Linked DNA regions of Homo sapiens: region 2 is linked to region 1. The links are contacts of gene promoters, found by promoter capture Hi-C in blood cells and fetal thymus (Javierre and others, 2016). All regions are on one chromosome and are shown on one strand. The core of a region is centred on a gene start or on the middle of the fragment in contact, and the rest is flanking DNA. Distances in the headings are between cores, read along the strand shown. Region 1 holds the start of LMBRD1 (LMBR1 domain containing 1). Region 2 overlaps OGFRL1 (opioid growth factor receptor like 1).

What was found. The method cuts DNA at HindIII sites, captures the fragments that hold promoters and counts their contacts. A CHiCAGO score of 5 or more calls a contact.
Region 2: a contact is called between a fragment that was not itself captured here and the fragment with the promoter of LMBRD1 in region 1, in 1 of 17 cell types (total CD8 T cells). The highest score is 5.1, in total CD8 T cells.

Annotation. Positions count from the first base shown.
Region 1 is chr6:69,792,819-69,800,161 of GRCh38, forward strand. It overlaps LMBRD1 (LMBR1 domain containing 1), which reads right to left and starts at 4,192. Exons shown (of 16, transcript NM_018368.4): 1 at 3,995-4,192. The coding sequence starts at 4,063. RefSeq lists enhancers at 3,143-3,699, 3,524-3,573, 3,700-4,255, 3,884-4,113. The HindIII fragment of the contact is 19,066 bases long and covers 1-7,343 here.
Region 2 is chr6:71,290,364-71,297,706 of GRCh38, forward strand. OGFRL1 (opioid growth factor receptor like 1) reads left to right here. Exons shown (of 7, transcript NM_024576.5): 2 at 2,930-3,016; 3 at 3,170-3,248; 4 at 5,954-6,032; 5 at 6,132-6,198; 6 at 6,309-6,454. All of the region lies in intron 3 of LOC124901339 (a long non-coding RNA gene), which reads right to left. Among named protein-coding and RNA genes, the nearest start is that of OGFRL1, 5.2 kb to the left of the region's middle. The HindIII fragment of the contact is 194 bases long and covers 1,867-2,060 here.

The sequences.
Region 1 (7,343 bases), core at 2,942-5,441:
AGGTATTACTGCAAACAAAGGATTTTGCCAATATCAGGCAGACAAGCTAGGAAACGGCAACCAGGCAGAAGAGTTAAGCCAGAGATTCCCAAACTTTTTGGTCTCAGAATCCCTTTATAATGGTTTTAAAACTGATAACCTTAAAGAGCTTTTTGTTCATGTTATCAATCATTACTACAATATAAAATAAAACCAAGTATCCTCGTCTATAGGAATACTTCTTTCATAACAAGTTATAAGGATTAAATGAGATATAAAGGGTTTACCATAGTGGCTGGCCATAGTAACTGCTTAACAAACAGTAGTAGTTATTAGATAATTTGATAAAAGAAACAAATATATAACTCTGTTAACAATTATAAAGAAAAGTTTCAAATAGTCCCCCCAGCTTCTCCCAAAAGATTCAAAATAAATTGGTCTGAACACTGAGATTTTTAAAACTCCCCAGGTGGTTCTGATGAAAGGTCAAGTTTGCAAACCACTGGGGCAGAAGAAGGAATGAGAAGAGATGAATCTTCATTAAACTAATGAGAATAGATGACATACTGTATGGGATCTTGTTAAACTGCAGATCTGATTCAGTAGGACTGGGGTCACATATTTGGTATTTCTAACAAGTTCCCAGATGATGCCCACACTTTAAGGAACAAGAATAAATTTGCTTTACAAAAATGGAGAGTCTCCTATTGTAATGGCAAATACAATTTAAAGGTGGTGTGAGCCAAATTACAGAGGACATTGAAGCTAGATAGAACAGTTTAGATTTGATATAGTAAAGACAGACATAGTTAGATTACAGGCATGAGATACCAAATCTAACAATTCCTTATGTGTGAAGAAACTGAAGTCCATTCTTTTTGCCCACGATCACAAAAGTAGGCAACATTCATGTCCTGAATCTTTTTTTTTTTTTTTTTTTTTTTGAGACGAAGTTTCCCTCTGTTGCCCAGGCACTATCAGAGCTTGCTGCAACTGCCTCCACAAACCACCTCCTGGGCTCAAGCAATCCTCCCACCTCAGCCTTCTGAGTAGCTGGAACCTCAGGCATTTGCCACCTCGCCCGGCTAATTTTTTGTATTTTTAGTAGGAATGGGGCTTTGCCATGCTGCCCAGGCTGGTCTCAACTCCTGAGCTCAACTGATCCACCTGCCTCAGCCTCCCAAAGTGCTGGGATTACAGGTGTGAGCCACCACACCTGGCCCATGTCCTGAATATTTAGTAGATGATTGGCAGAAGTTCTCCAAGTGTGAAATCCCTAGGCCCTGGTAGTCCCCAGAATCCTTTCTGGAGATTCAGAAGTTGAAAACTATTCTCATAATAAATACTAAGATGCTATTTGCCTTTTTCACTGTGCTGACATTTGCACTCATGGTTCATAGCCACAGTGGGTAAAACTACTGGTGCATTAGCGTGAATCAAGACAGTGGCACCAAACTGCACCAGTAATCATTGTATTCTTCACCACAAGTTCAAAAAGGGACAATTTAAATTAAGACTGTGCTTCACAAAGCAGCATAAATTCATTTTATTGAAATTCAACCCTTGACTCTTTTTAATACTTTGTGGGGTAAAATATGAAGCATGCGTACATAAAGTCCTGCTGCATACCAAGATGTGATGGCTATCTCCAGGAAAAGTTTAGAGTTAAAAGCTAAACCAACCACTCTTCAAGGAACACCATTTTTACTTGAAAGAACAATTGTCAAACTGGTTATTCAGACTTCGCTTTTTGGCAGATTTTGTCAAATGAACAAAGGGAATCTATCACTTAAAGAAAAACTGACAGTATTTGATACCAATGATAATTATGAGTCAAACTTTCAAATGAAAATTGGATTTTGAAAGACTTACATCCACAAGTATGAGCTTGACAACTCTTCAATACTTAGAATTTTCAGAGACATTTCTGACAAGATCAGTTGTAATTTAATGAAATGTGATATTTTGATATTGTGTAATGAAACGTATCCATATTTAAAAGATGTGCATAACTCAGTAAACCAACATTTTCTAAGTGGCCATGGCATCATGTTATAAAACCATGCATGGGTAAAAGAGCCTTTCAAAGTGCAAGATGGGCTAATGGATTTTAATGTAACAATGAATGAAATGCTCATTGATAGGGTTTCAGATTCCACCTTGCAGCTGACATGAATCTTCCACTTGTTGAGCTTTGGTGTAGTGTCAAAAAACATCCACAATTATCTGAAAAACGCTCCTCTGTTTCTGACTACCTATCATTGCAGCTGTATTTTCTCCATACACTTCGACTAAAATAACATACCCCAAAAGACTGAATGTAGAAGGCAACAAAAGAAACCAGCCTTTCTTCTAATAAACCAGGATTTAAAGAGATTTGCAGAAATTTAAACAAAAGTCCTTCTTCCTAATGCTTTTATCCACGACAACATTCAATTCTGATTTTATTTGTCCTTGCTGTAATATTGCCAACTTAAATGGCCTCTCTTCTTCATCTATCCAAACTCTACCACAATTCTCATTTTCTTCCAATATTGTTGTCTATTCTCTTAAGTCCTGCTTTATTTATAGTCACACTTTGGCTTTCGGTCCATAAAATACATGTTTCAAGAATTTCAGTTTTCTCACTTATCTTCAGGCCCTCTTTAAAGCCGTATTTTGTTTGGTTTACATCCTCTTACAATTCACACCACTTCTGTACCGTAAATGTTTATTAATTTATAACTGCCAAGATAGTCTCACGTAACTTTCATACATTACATGCTTATTTATTTTTTTCTAAACAAACTAAATCTGATGGACTGGAAAAGCCAGGGGGCTCTCCAAATACAGGACTGGGTGGCTGCAGAGACCACAGTCAACCTTTAGGGTTTCATTTCCTCCAAGAGAGGACTAACATGTTCCAGGGTAAAGGCAGTGTTTTTATCTGTGACAGTGATGGCAGTAACAAGAGGATCCTTTTCTTAAATTTTCACACCATTCTTTTCTTTTATTTTCTTTTTTTAGTCTCTACTGCAAAAATCTACTAGAACATACTACATAGGTACCAGACACCAACTGGATCTGACAATTAAAGTAAAACCAAACAAGCCTGATTTCCAGAACTGGAGGTTTTTGTTTTGCAATGCAAAAAGGTCAAAATACGTGAGAACAGAAAGTAACTACAGCCTCGGACGATGAGAAAAGAGAAGATTTGAGAAGGTAGAGAAGTTATGAAAGGAAATAAATTGAACTCCCAAATAAACCAAAGGGTTTTAATATGAACAGGGAAGTAATAGCCAGGCCACTCTGAGACATTTCTATCTACACTTTGCTCACTGAATATGCAGAAATAAGATCGTTGGAAAAGAAAGCACCTGAGGTCAGACAGGTAGTAGTATATACTCCGATACTGGTAATAAAGAGGGCTACAGCTCCGCCCTCCACAGGTATCTACACCAATCAAAAAAAGATTAGAAGAGAATGTGACACCTGGAAGTCAGAACGAGCAACTCACGTCATCAAGGCAGAATCACACAATGGGCACAGAGGTTGGAGACTCACTAGCCCCAAGGGTAGGGAAAATGAGGGAAAAAACATACAGAGAAGGTGACAAGTAAACAACGCCAGCGCCTACTTAACTTGCAAAGATCCAGCGCTGCCGCCCCACACCGTGTGACAATGTTTTACAGGGGACGAAAGGCCACCACATACTTCTCAACCCCGAGGGTCTCTTCCGCCCCCAAACCCCACCGGCCCCATTGCCCAAGTCAGCGATGACGGCAAGAGCTTCCAAAAAGGACCCTGCAACCCTAGACGTCATCGGTGAAATGACAGCAAAAGAGACCGGAAATCGACACCCCCCTGCCCCCGCCGCCCGCCCAAGCCCCCAACACTAAGGAGCCCTCCACAGTCCAAGCTAAAAGCGGGGCGGGGCGAAGAGGGTCTCCGGGGCCCGGAGAGGCCAACTGCAGGGCCTGCCCCTCCCTTCCTCCCCCAGTCCAAACATGGGGAAAACTCCAAGCGCCTCCCCTACCAGTAGTAAGAGGCCGAATATGCACCAGCCGATCACCAGCTCCGCCGAGGCCGCGCCAGAAGTCGCCATCTTCGCTTCCGGTCCAGACCAACCTGAGCGCCCGGGGTGGGGAAAGGGGAGGGGGAAAGGGGAGAGAGCGCGAGATATACTGCACCCGCGCACCCTAAAGGTTAAAGGGGCGGAGGGGGAGGAGCAAGTGGTTGCCAAGGAGACTGGACCCACTAGCGTCCCCTGGCGGCGAGCCGAGCGGGGGCGGGGCAGCAAGGACTGCTCAGGGGCGGGGCGCGTGCGGACGCAGTGACATCACCACGCTGCCCTCGCTGGCTTCCCTGCAAGCTGAGATGTGGGAGGGCTGCAGAGCAGGGTGTTGGCTCATAGCTGGGCAACCTATTGAGATATTTGACTCAGCCTAAGTTGATAGACTAGAACAGCAAGGGAACTCCACAAAGAATGGGCTAGGTGGACCTGGAGATCCAAGTCAATTTTAGAGGTTTATACTTCTTCACCAAAAGGAAGTTTGGCCCTCGTGTACAAGGTGGAATGTGTGTGATTAGCAGAACTCCTTACCAGGTTGCAAGAATGGCTGATGTCAGGCCTCTGAGCCCAAGCTAAGCCATCATATCCCCAGTGACCTTCACGTATACATCCAGCTGGCCTGAAGCAACTGAAGATCCACAGAAGTGAAAATAGCTTAGCTGATGACATTCCACCATTGTGATTTGTTTCTGCCCCACCCTAACTGATCAATGTTCTTTATAATCTCCCCCACCCTTAAGAAGTTTCTTTGTAATTCTCCCCACCCTTGAGAATGTACTTTGTGAGATCTACCCCCTACCCCCAAAACATTGCTCTTCACTCCACCTCCTATCCGAAAAACTGTAAGAACCAATGATAATCCCACCACCCTTTGCCGACTCTCTTTTCGGACTCAGCCCGCCTGCACCCATGTGAAATAAACAGCCATGTTGCTCACACAAAGCCTGTTTGGTGGTCTCTTCACACGGACGCATGAGACAGCTGACTCTGAATAAAAGTTGACTAGCTGCCCAAATCACTCTAATTTACTGGCACTGGTGCCCAGCCGGGATAACTGGTTGGCTGGACATGAACTTATCACATGATGTTATAGCCTTTCTATTCAGATGTATGCATGCCTGTGAATTTCCATGATAGCTTTGTATGTAAAGGTATATGCATCAGCAAACAAAACACACTGCCATAGGCCCACAATGAAGAAGAAGGAGGAAACTCTTGGGATGGCTTACCTGAGTCCACAGGGAGGAAACTCTTGGGATGGCTTACCTGAGTCCACAGGGGTGTGAGTGCATGTTTCACCACTGTGATGTAGTCAAGAAACAACTCTGAGAAAAAATACCATCATCTTTTTCCAATGTATTATGTGGTGATGAGTTATGCTCTACCTATAATCTACTTCCGGCTGGAAGCCTGAGGGAAAAAATAGGATGGTCCTTCCTGCCTGGACAGAATAAGAAGGGAATAGGGGAGAATACAGTTTTAACTTGAACTGGTACCATCATAAGCTGGCTTTAAGCCCTCTAGACCTGCAAATGTTTGAATTTCACTCTTTCTTCCTAATAATTCATATCCCTGGAGACCTCTGTCATAGCTTCCTTAAAGTGAAGAGAGGTATCGCTTCCAGGTTGATATCTCTATTCCAGATTGTATAGAGCACCCTTGACATAAGTAACTACTTCTTAGAAAAAGATTCTGTTTACATTTCAAAAGGAATCATGCCAAAAGGGACCAGATGTTCACCTAATCAATAGAGACTGCACCCAACCAGATAACGACATAACCAGGCACACTCTTTTATTATTATTATTATTATTATTATTATTATTATTATACTTTAAGTTCTAGGGTACATGTGCACAACGTGCAGATTTGTTACATATGCATACATGTGCCATGTTGAGGTGCTGCACCCATTAACTAGTCTTACATCAGGTATATCTCCTAATGCTATCCCTCCCCACTTTCCCCCACCCTACAACAGGGCCCAGTGTGTGATGTTCCCCTTCCTGTGTCCAAGTGTTCTCATTGTTCAATTCCCACCTATGAGTGAGAACATGTGGTGTTTGGTTTTCTGTCCTTGCAATAGTTTGCTGAGAATGATGTTTTCCAGCTTCATCCATGTCCCTACAAAGAACATGAACTCATCCTTTTTTATGGCTGCATAGTATTCCATGGTGTATATGTGCCACATTTTCTTAATCCAGTCTATCACTGATGGACATTTCAGTTGGTTCCAAGTATTTGCTATTGCAGGCACACTCTTTACTATCAGTCAACACCAGAGGACTCTGAGGCTATAAAAAGAGTAGAACTTCAACAGCTCAAGATAGCCATCTTAACAGACACTGTCTTACTGTCACTCATGATCAGCATCTAGCATCTGCCACCAAAGGTTCTGCTCAAATCAAAGACTCTTCCTTGCAAAATGTTGATATGCATCCTGATCAGCCGAGGACACTCTCCTTGTCCATGTTGCTCTCCTTGGATTGGTTAATCCTGTTTTCCTAACCTTTCTCTTGATGTTAAATGTTATTTTCTTTTAGAATGTTTAGCCTATAATATTTATATGTTATGTATACTACTATGTTTGGTTTGCAATATTGACTGACTTGTGGAGTGGCTAGAGCTTTGTGTCCTTGGTTCTGACTACCAAATGAATGGGTACTACTAAGGAAAATTACCTCCTTCGGACCTTCATACAGCTCATGGCTTTTATGATTGAAATAGCATCAACAAAAGTCTGACTGTGGAAAGACACAAACTTGCAGGGACTTGAGCCACTGACAGGTAGTCACTTATATCTCCTCCACAAGCCCCAGAGCATACTGAGGTATACTTAATTATTCCTTTTCCTGCTGAGGTCTTGTAATCTTCTTCTAGAAGCTCATTTAAGTTGGAGGAGAGGCCTAAGACAACCCCAAGCCAGTTCTTCCCCTTTCCCCAAATAGTCTAAATCCCCTCTGTAGGAATGATGATACATACCTTGCACCAACAACTTTGGGAGCACAGGCCAATCCCAATGTAGCTCCATTCTCCTAGTTCTACAATCAAAGGAATCAGCCCTTTTTGATTATACCCAAGAAAGTCAGCCCCTGATGCTACAGTCCACTGTAGTTCTCTCTACTGGGTCAGACACTAGCCCTCTGTGTCCTCAATTTCAGGGGCCATATTTCAAATTCTCCAAGTAGCTCCCTTGAGGCCTCCCTTACTAGGCTAAGGGTTAGAAGGTAACACCCCACTCCAACCCACCCACCCCTCCACCTCACCCACAAATACACCACTCTTTGGAGTTAAGGATGGAATTCCACAGGTC
Region 2 (7,343 bases), core at 714-3,213, 1.5 Mb after region 1:
ATTCAATCTTATTAAATTATTAGATGCTGCATTCTCATGTTTTTCCCTTACGTTTGTCTCCCAATTAAGTAACCTCCTACAGAAATTTGGAATATCAAAAAACACCAGCTAAGATTCAATCCAACTAACCAGGTCCATCTATATAAAACATTTTAATAATGTTCAGTCAGTTAACTGCAACCCCAGTAACTAGTAGACTACACCAGCCCTCCCTATTCCCTTTTAATGATTAATTTTTCTTGTTAGTATCACCATCTGACTTCCCCAAAAAATCTGCTTTTCAATTTTGCCTTTTGACTGCCAACCCTATTTGTTGTCTATTCCTCAGAGTCAATCCACTTGCAGGTAATACTGGAGCTACTTTTAAAGCGTATCCCAGACTGACTCCTTCACACCACTTCCATTGCATCATCCTAGTCCCTCTGAATACTGAACAAATGATGGTGACATTAACCAAGACAGGGAAGTCTAGGGAGAATGCAGCTATGGAGGTTAAATCAACGATTCTCTTGAGTTTGATATCCTATTACACATCCAAGTAGAGTTGTTGGGTAGTTAATCATTTGTTGGGTAGTTAAATTACATCTATGAATGGAGACAGTCCAGGACTAGAGTCCTCAGCATCTGAGATCAATGGTATTTAAAGGCATGGGAAGATAAGGGGTTATCAAGGAGTGATGACGACTGAGGACCTTAGGCACCCCTCCATTTAGAGGGTATGAAGAGGAGGAGGAGCCAAAAAAGGAGGCTGACAAGGGGAGCCCAATGAGACAGAAAGTAAACTAAGAAAGTTATAGTAGCCTGTAAGCCAAATACTGACAGTGTTTCAGGAAGGAGGGATGCTTTAATTGGCCCAGTTCTGTTGGGAGGTCACCTGAGGTGAACATTAAGAAATGGTTTGGCAAGATGGAGACTTATTGGTGAAGTTCACAAGAACTATTTTGTTGGAGTGCTGAGGACAAAAGCCTGATTGAGGTGGGTCAGGGGAAAATGGGGAAAGAAAAGAAGGAAACAAAGTATGGGCAATTCTTTGGTGGTGATTTGCTATAAAAAAGGAGTAGATATATGGATCTGTAATTGATGGTAGGCCTGGGTCAAGGAATGTTTTGTATGTTTATTTTAAGATTAAAGATACTACAGCATGTTTGTTTGAGATCGAGAAGAGAGGGAAATTTTGATGATCCAGGAAAGAGGAACAATATTGAACAACAGAATCCTTGTCTGAGCAGGTGAAAGGGGTCTGGGTAGAGAGTCCAAAGGGAATAGGGGTTGGAAGAGCAGGAGCAGATGCTGGCAGGACACAGACATTCTTATGATAATCCTGAGAAATAGGTAGGGCTTGAGTCATTATCTTTATTTCAGAGATGATAAAACTAAGATTCAGCTAAATGATTTGCTTAAGGCCTCACAAATACAAGTAAGCAGCGTTCAGATTGCTAGTCTTCTGACTCCAAGTCTTGGGCTACTGATACTACACCAAGGTTTCCATATATCCTTCATTTTTTAGTGTGACTGAGATTGATTCAGACCTGGACTTGGGACCCAGAGCCTGGGATTCTTGTTCTTGCACTGTCACTGGACTCTGGGTGGTGTGCAACTTCTCTAAGCCCCTGATATCTTGTTTCTAAGATGGAAACACTTATTAACTGTCAATCAGGTGTGTTTTAAGAATCAAATGAAATAATGCCTTTTGACTGTCAACCCTGTTTGTTGTCTATTCGCTATATATGTAAGTGCTTTGTAAATGGAGAGTGCCTTCTATACAAATGTAGGATGATGATTCATATGGTTGTATCTCAGGCTAAATAGATTCAGAAACTTGCTAGGCAGAGCTATTTTGAAACGTGTGGCAAGGACCAGAATTCAAGCTTTTCCTTGCTTATGTAACATGACAGCGTAACTAATGTTAAGCATCAGAAGATTTGATGTTGAAGTAACTCGGTACTTGTAGTAATAGTGAGAATCACACCACTTCAAAAATGTGTGAAAATTACTTAGAGGATGCCAATCTGTCAACACAGATGGAGGACAGGGGTTGAGGAGAAAAGAATTTGGGGCAAAGCTTTTAATGACTCTTAAAGGTCTAAAGTTTTTCTTTTTCATGATTGTCATCAGCACTTTCTCATACATTATAATAGTACATATAGGGAATGCAAATCGATTATTTTAACCCACATCTTATACTTTAAAAATCAGTTCATGGTGATAGGAATTTTACTTAAGAGTTTGAACAGTATGAGTAAACTACCATGTATAAGTTGTTTCAATTGGACACCATTCCATTTAAGAGCATTTTATTGCTTTGTGTGTATATATTTTAAATGTTTATATCACATTGTATTATCATTCAGTGAACAGATGATTATTCATGCCTTTGTGTACTTGTCATGGTATTATAAAGGATGGAGTTTAGAAAGCTAGTTTGTTTTAAAATCCTTTCTTTTCATAAATATTACTTGACTTCCAAGTACAGCTAAATGTTGCAAATTTAATGACAATTTTCTTTGTAGAATTGATTTAGTAACTTAACACATTCTTAGTATTATGTAAAATATTCTAAAATAAGTTTTATCATAGAATCACTTGCATAATCATCTGGTAAATAAATGTCTTGAATTCCTTTTTGAGTTCCATTTTTGATGGATATTGATCCATAACATTGGCCTCTTAGGTTTTTGGTTAATAATAAAGTGTTTTATTCAGTAATATATCTTAGGACAAATGTTATTGGTTCAAATAAGAAAAATAGGATGCTAAGAAATATTGCTAGTAAGCGTTATTAAAGGAATATTTATAATATTTTCATTAATCTGGACAGATTGACAATTTTCAGGCTTTCTTTATGGATCTTCCTTAAGTTTGTTCTGGAAATTTCTTTGTGAAATTATCTTGCGTCAACATGTAAACGGAGTTTCACCTTTTATTTCAGGGTGGTGATTCCACTGAAGCAACTGCCAAACCAAAGAGAAGTTTTTATGCTGCCAGGGATTTGTACAAGTACCGACACCAGTACCCAGTAAGAGTATAGAATGCTATGTTTTAAACTGTAAACTATTTTCCTTCTGTTTTTAAATTTTTATGGTGCCACTGAGAAAACATGCATGAAGGGTCCTTGTATCTTTACTGTATTTCTATGTGCTGGAGATTGATTTATTTTTTCCTTTAGCAGAACTTCAAAGATATCCGATATCAAAATGACTTGAGCAATCTTCGTTTTTATAAGAATAAAATTCCATTCAAGCCAGATGGTGAGTAACGTACTACTTGATAAATTGCACTTTAAATAATCACATACACTTGGTTATTCTTTATTTTGTGGTTTGTTTCATTGATTGGATTTACTTTGCTATGCAGTCTAATGTGTCCCCTTGGTAAATTCTGGAGGAAGAGCTATGGATTAATGGTATCTTTCTTATTTACATTGCTATTATCTGAAAGATAGTAGGGACAATTTTTGTGACAGGAAGAGAGAGGAGATGTATAGAACCATAGAATTTTAGGTTATTAAGGAACAGTAGAGAAGATCAAATTCAGCTTTCTCATCTCAAAGATTAGGTCACTAGGACTTAAAGCTTAGGTCACTCGATTGCAGGTTCTAGAGTCCACTGTTCTTTCCATTGTGCCATAGCTGAAAACTATTTAGCATGTGATTGAAAAGTGCTGTTTGTATTTAGAATTATCTTTCCTGTCAGTTTTCAGATTCAGTATCAGCAATCTACAGCAATCCCTGTTTGGAGTTCCAATATTCTGGGAAGGGAACTGCAGATACAGTAGATCTCCATCCAACTCTGCCAAATACACTTGTCTCCTTCCCAACTCTGCAATTGCCCTCCTAGGATATTTTCCAAACCCATAGTGAGAAGATGCAGCTGCTATGGTAATATGACCACAACATTGCATATTTCATTGAGGCATCATGCTGTGGTTCATGGTGGTCATCCTAATTTTATCCAGGTCACCCTAGGAAAGCTGGCTTCTCTCCCAAGAGCCCTTTTCTGTGTGAGGTGGTCAGACTGCCCTGGCTTCTGCTATTTGCTCTCAGTGGAAACTGAGCCAGTTCCACAGCAGTGTGAGTCACAGAAGGAAGGAGATAGACTGCAAGGCTTTCAAGTGGCAGGACCTTGCATTCTTTGGTGAACTAACTCGAGGCAAGAGGTCTAAAGCCTGGATTGAGTTTGGGAGGAGGGAGTCCCAGTACTGTGTACCAACAGACCTACCAGTTGGGAGTTAATATTTGAGAACATCGTTGACGTGGCCAGATCTACTTGTCTTTAACTTTCTGGTGTCCTGAAAGTCTGCTGTGATGTGGAATGAAACCTCTGGATAAAATTGCACAGTTATATTTACTAATGATAGAAATGTGCTGCTTTATTTACTAATGGAAAAATATTGGCCAAATTATTCATTTTGTTAGGACTTGGGGTAGAAAAATATTTTGAAGAAATGCAATGATAGATTGTTAATTTGAGTCTGATTTGAATTTCATACAATTTTCCTAAAGGAATGCCTTCACATATTAAAAATATTAAACATAAAGCTATGATAGTATTTAACTCTATTTTTTTCTACTAGGGAATTTATTTTGTAAATATTAATTTAAAAAGTAATTTCAAGCAATATATTGAATTTTTGGTAATCTTTACTACAAAGTTTATTTTGAAATCTTATGATTGGTGGGGGTCAGAAGTTTTAGCTAAGGTCAGATAAAATGTTTATCCTAGTTTATTATACAAATTATATCAACTCACTTTCCTCCCTAGTATACACACACACGCACACACGCACACACACACTACTTGCCAGTAAGCATAATCTTGCAATGGTATTTATTTATCAGGCAGGAGGAGTGGTAGTTGGAAAGGAAAACAAATGGAAAATTACAGAGGTAAATGGTTTCAACATGCCAATAAAGCCAACATTATGATTCAAAACAACTTTTTACCAAACCTTCCGAGAGTGGGCCTCTACTACAAACTGGTGATCTCTGGAGGAAACAAGAATGAGATGAGTTATGTTCGGAGAAATATTATATTGCTATTTTATTTTCTACAACATTGACTAAATGGCTAGTCAATTGTAAGGACCTTGACAGACTTAGGAACAGGAGGATTTTGTTTTTGTAAGTTCTTGTAGAGGAAAAGTGGACAGGGTGAAAAGGGCTTACTTCTTGGAACCAGAAAGACCTATGTTGCACTCAAGATTTACTTTTTTACTAGTGTGTAACTTTGAACAAATCTCCCAGTTTCTTCATTGTTAAAATGAGGATCATAACACTGGCAGCATTCTGTGAAGACTAAGCTGGAAAATGTGCGCTCTGTGTAATATGGGCACAGCATGTAGTAAGCACTTACAACTTTTTCCTACATTTTTCTTTTCTCGTTTTCCTTCTCCTTTGTTTTCTCCTTCTCATTTCTTTTCTTCTATTTCTACTCCCCTTTCTTTCTTTTTCCCTAGGATGCAATTCATTTTGATCCAATTTAGCATTTAAAGAACTATATAACTCCTAGGACTGGGATTGGCAAACTTTCTATACAGGGGCAAATAGTAAATATTTTGGGCTTTGGGGGACAGTGGGTCTGTATTGCAACTACACAGCTCTGCTACTGTAGTACAAAAACTGCCATAGACAGTACATAAATGAATGTGCATAGCTATATTCCAATAAAACTTTATTTAAAAAACAGCTGGCAGGCCACAGTTTGCCAAGCTCTGCTTTAGAGTACATTGTCCAACAAAGCCTTGTGCAATTTGAGGTGCTATTAATTTTTTTTAATTAGATTTATCACATAACCGAATATATGGGCATAGGGTATTCATCTTTTTAAAAGCACTATTCTTGTGTGCTATTATTAAATTTAAACAAGTTTTCATATAAAACTCAAGTGATTCGAATCTTAAAATGCCTTCACAATGTTTGAAATGTCTGGTTCATTTTTAAATATTTACTATTTAGGTGTTTACATTGAAGAAGTTCTAAGTAAATGGAAAGGAGATTATGAAAAACTGGAGCACAACCACACTTACATTCAATGGTCAGTTACATATTATCTATCTTGAACCATGTCCTATTTAATCATGTATGTTTTCCAGACAACGTTAATAGAAAAATTTTATTTTTTTAAAATAAATAGGCTTTTCCCCCTGAGAGAACAAGGCTTGAACTTCTATGCCAAAGAACTAACTACATATGAAATTGAGGTAATGCAAGCTCATTTCATTTTATACAGGGTGGCCAAATAATATTGCTATTTCACTGTCCTTGTAGCTACTGAATCATTTCAGGTGACTTTTTTCATTTTTTATATTAGGAATTCAAAAAAACAAAAGAAGCAATTAGAAGATTCCTCCTGGCTTATAAAATGATGCTAGAATTTTTTGGAATAAAACTGACTGATAAAACTGGAAATGTTGCTCGGGCTGTTAACTGGCAGGAAAGATTTCAGCATCTGAATGAGTAAGTAAAGCCCCTGTGATAAATCAGGGGCCAGCACAGTTATTTTCCCTTGGTCAGAGTTCTCTATGAAACGCAGGAACAACTAGCAGATGAGATGGGCCCAGGAATTTGGATTAAAAAGCTAGTCTGAAATGCATTACATTCCTGTACCACATTCTAAAACAAAACAAAACAACAACAAAAAGGAACAAAATTCTAGGTAGAAACACAGCTATTCAGCTTCAGACCTGTTTCTCCCTGAAACCTTCCTATTGCCCACAGCCAAATGTTGCTTCTCTCCCTCCTCCTTATGCCACATTTCTTTGAGTTTATTGTTATTGCTTGTGTACAATTCTGTGTATTCCTTCTTGTAGGCTGTAAGCTTCTTGGGGCACAATCTGTTTCTAAGCATAATGCCTTCTTAAGATTAAATTCATGCATTAAGCCTATGATGTATAAAAATCATTTTATAAGAATGAGATGGGCCCATAGTTTTTACTAAAAGAGAGAGAAAATTACACTTGTCTTCACTATTAAGGTAAAAAACAAAAACTCATTTTTGGGTAATAAGTCCCAAAACTTATGAAGAACATTTTAACATAGTTTATTTGGAATTGTTTTGCTGTATTCATTTGGTTGGATGTTTATAACTTTTGTTAATACTCATAACCAAAGTTTATTTTTCTTGATATTTTCTTCATATTCACTGTCTATTTTCTTTTTAATTATAGTTAAATTTTAACTAATTATAGTTACATTTAAACTAATCATAGTTGAATTATTTATGAATGCTGGCCTATACAGCCACCAGCTTTAAAGTACTTTTAAGCATATTATAATTAGCTAAACTGAGCAAGTACTAAGAGCAAAAAAATTAAAACTAACCTAAGCAATTTTCCTTTGGCCACAG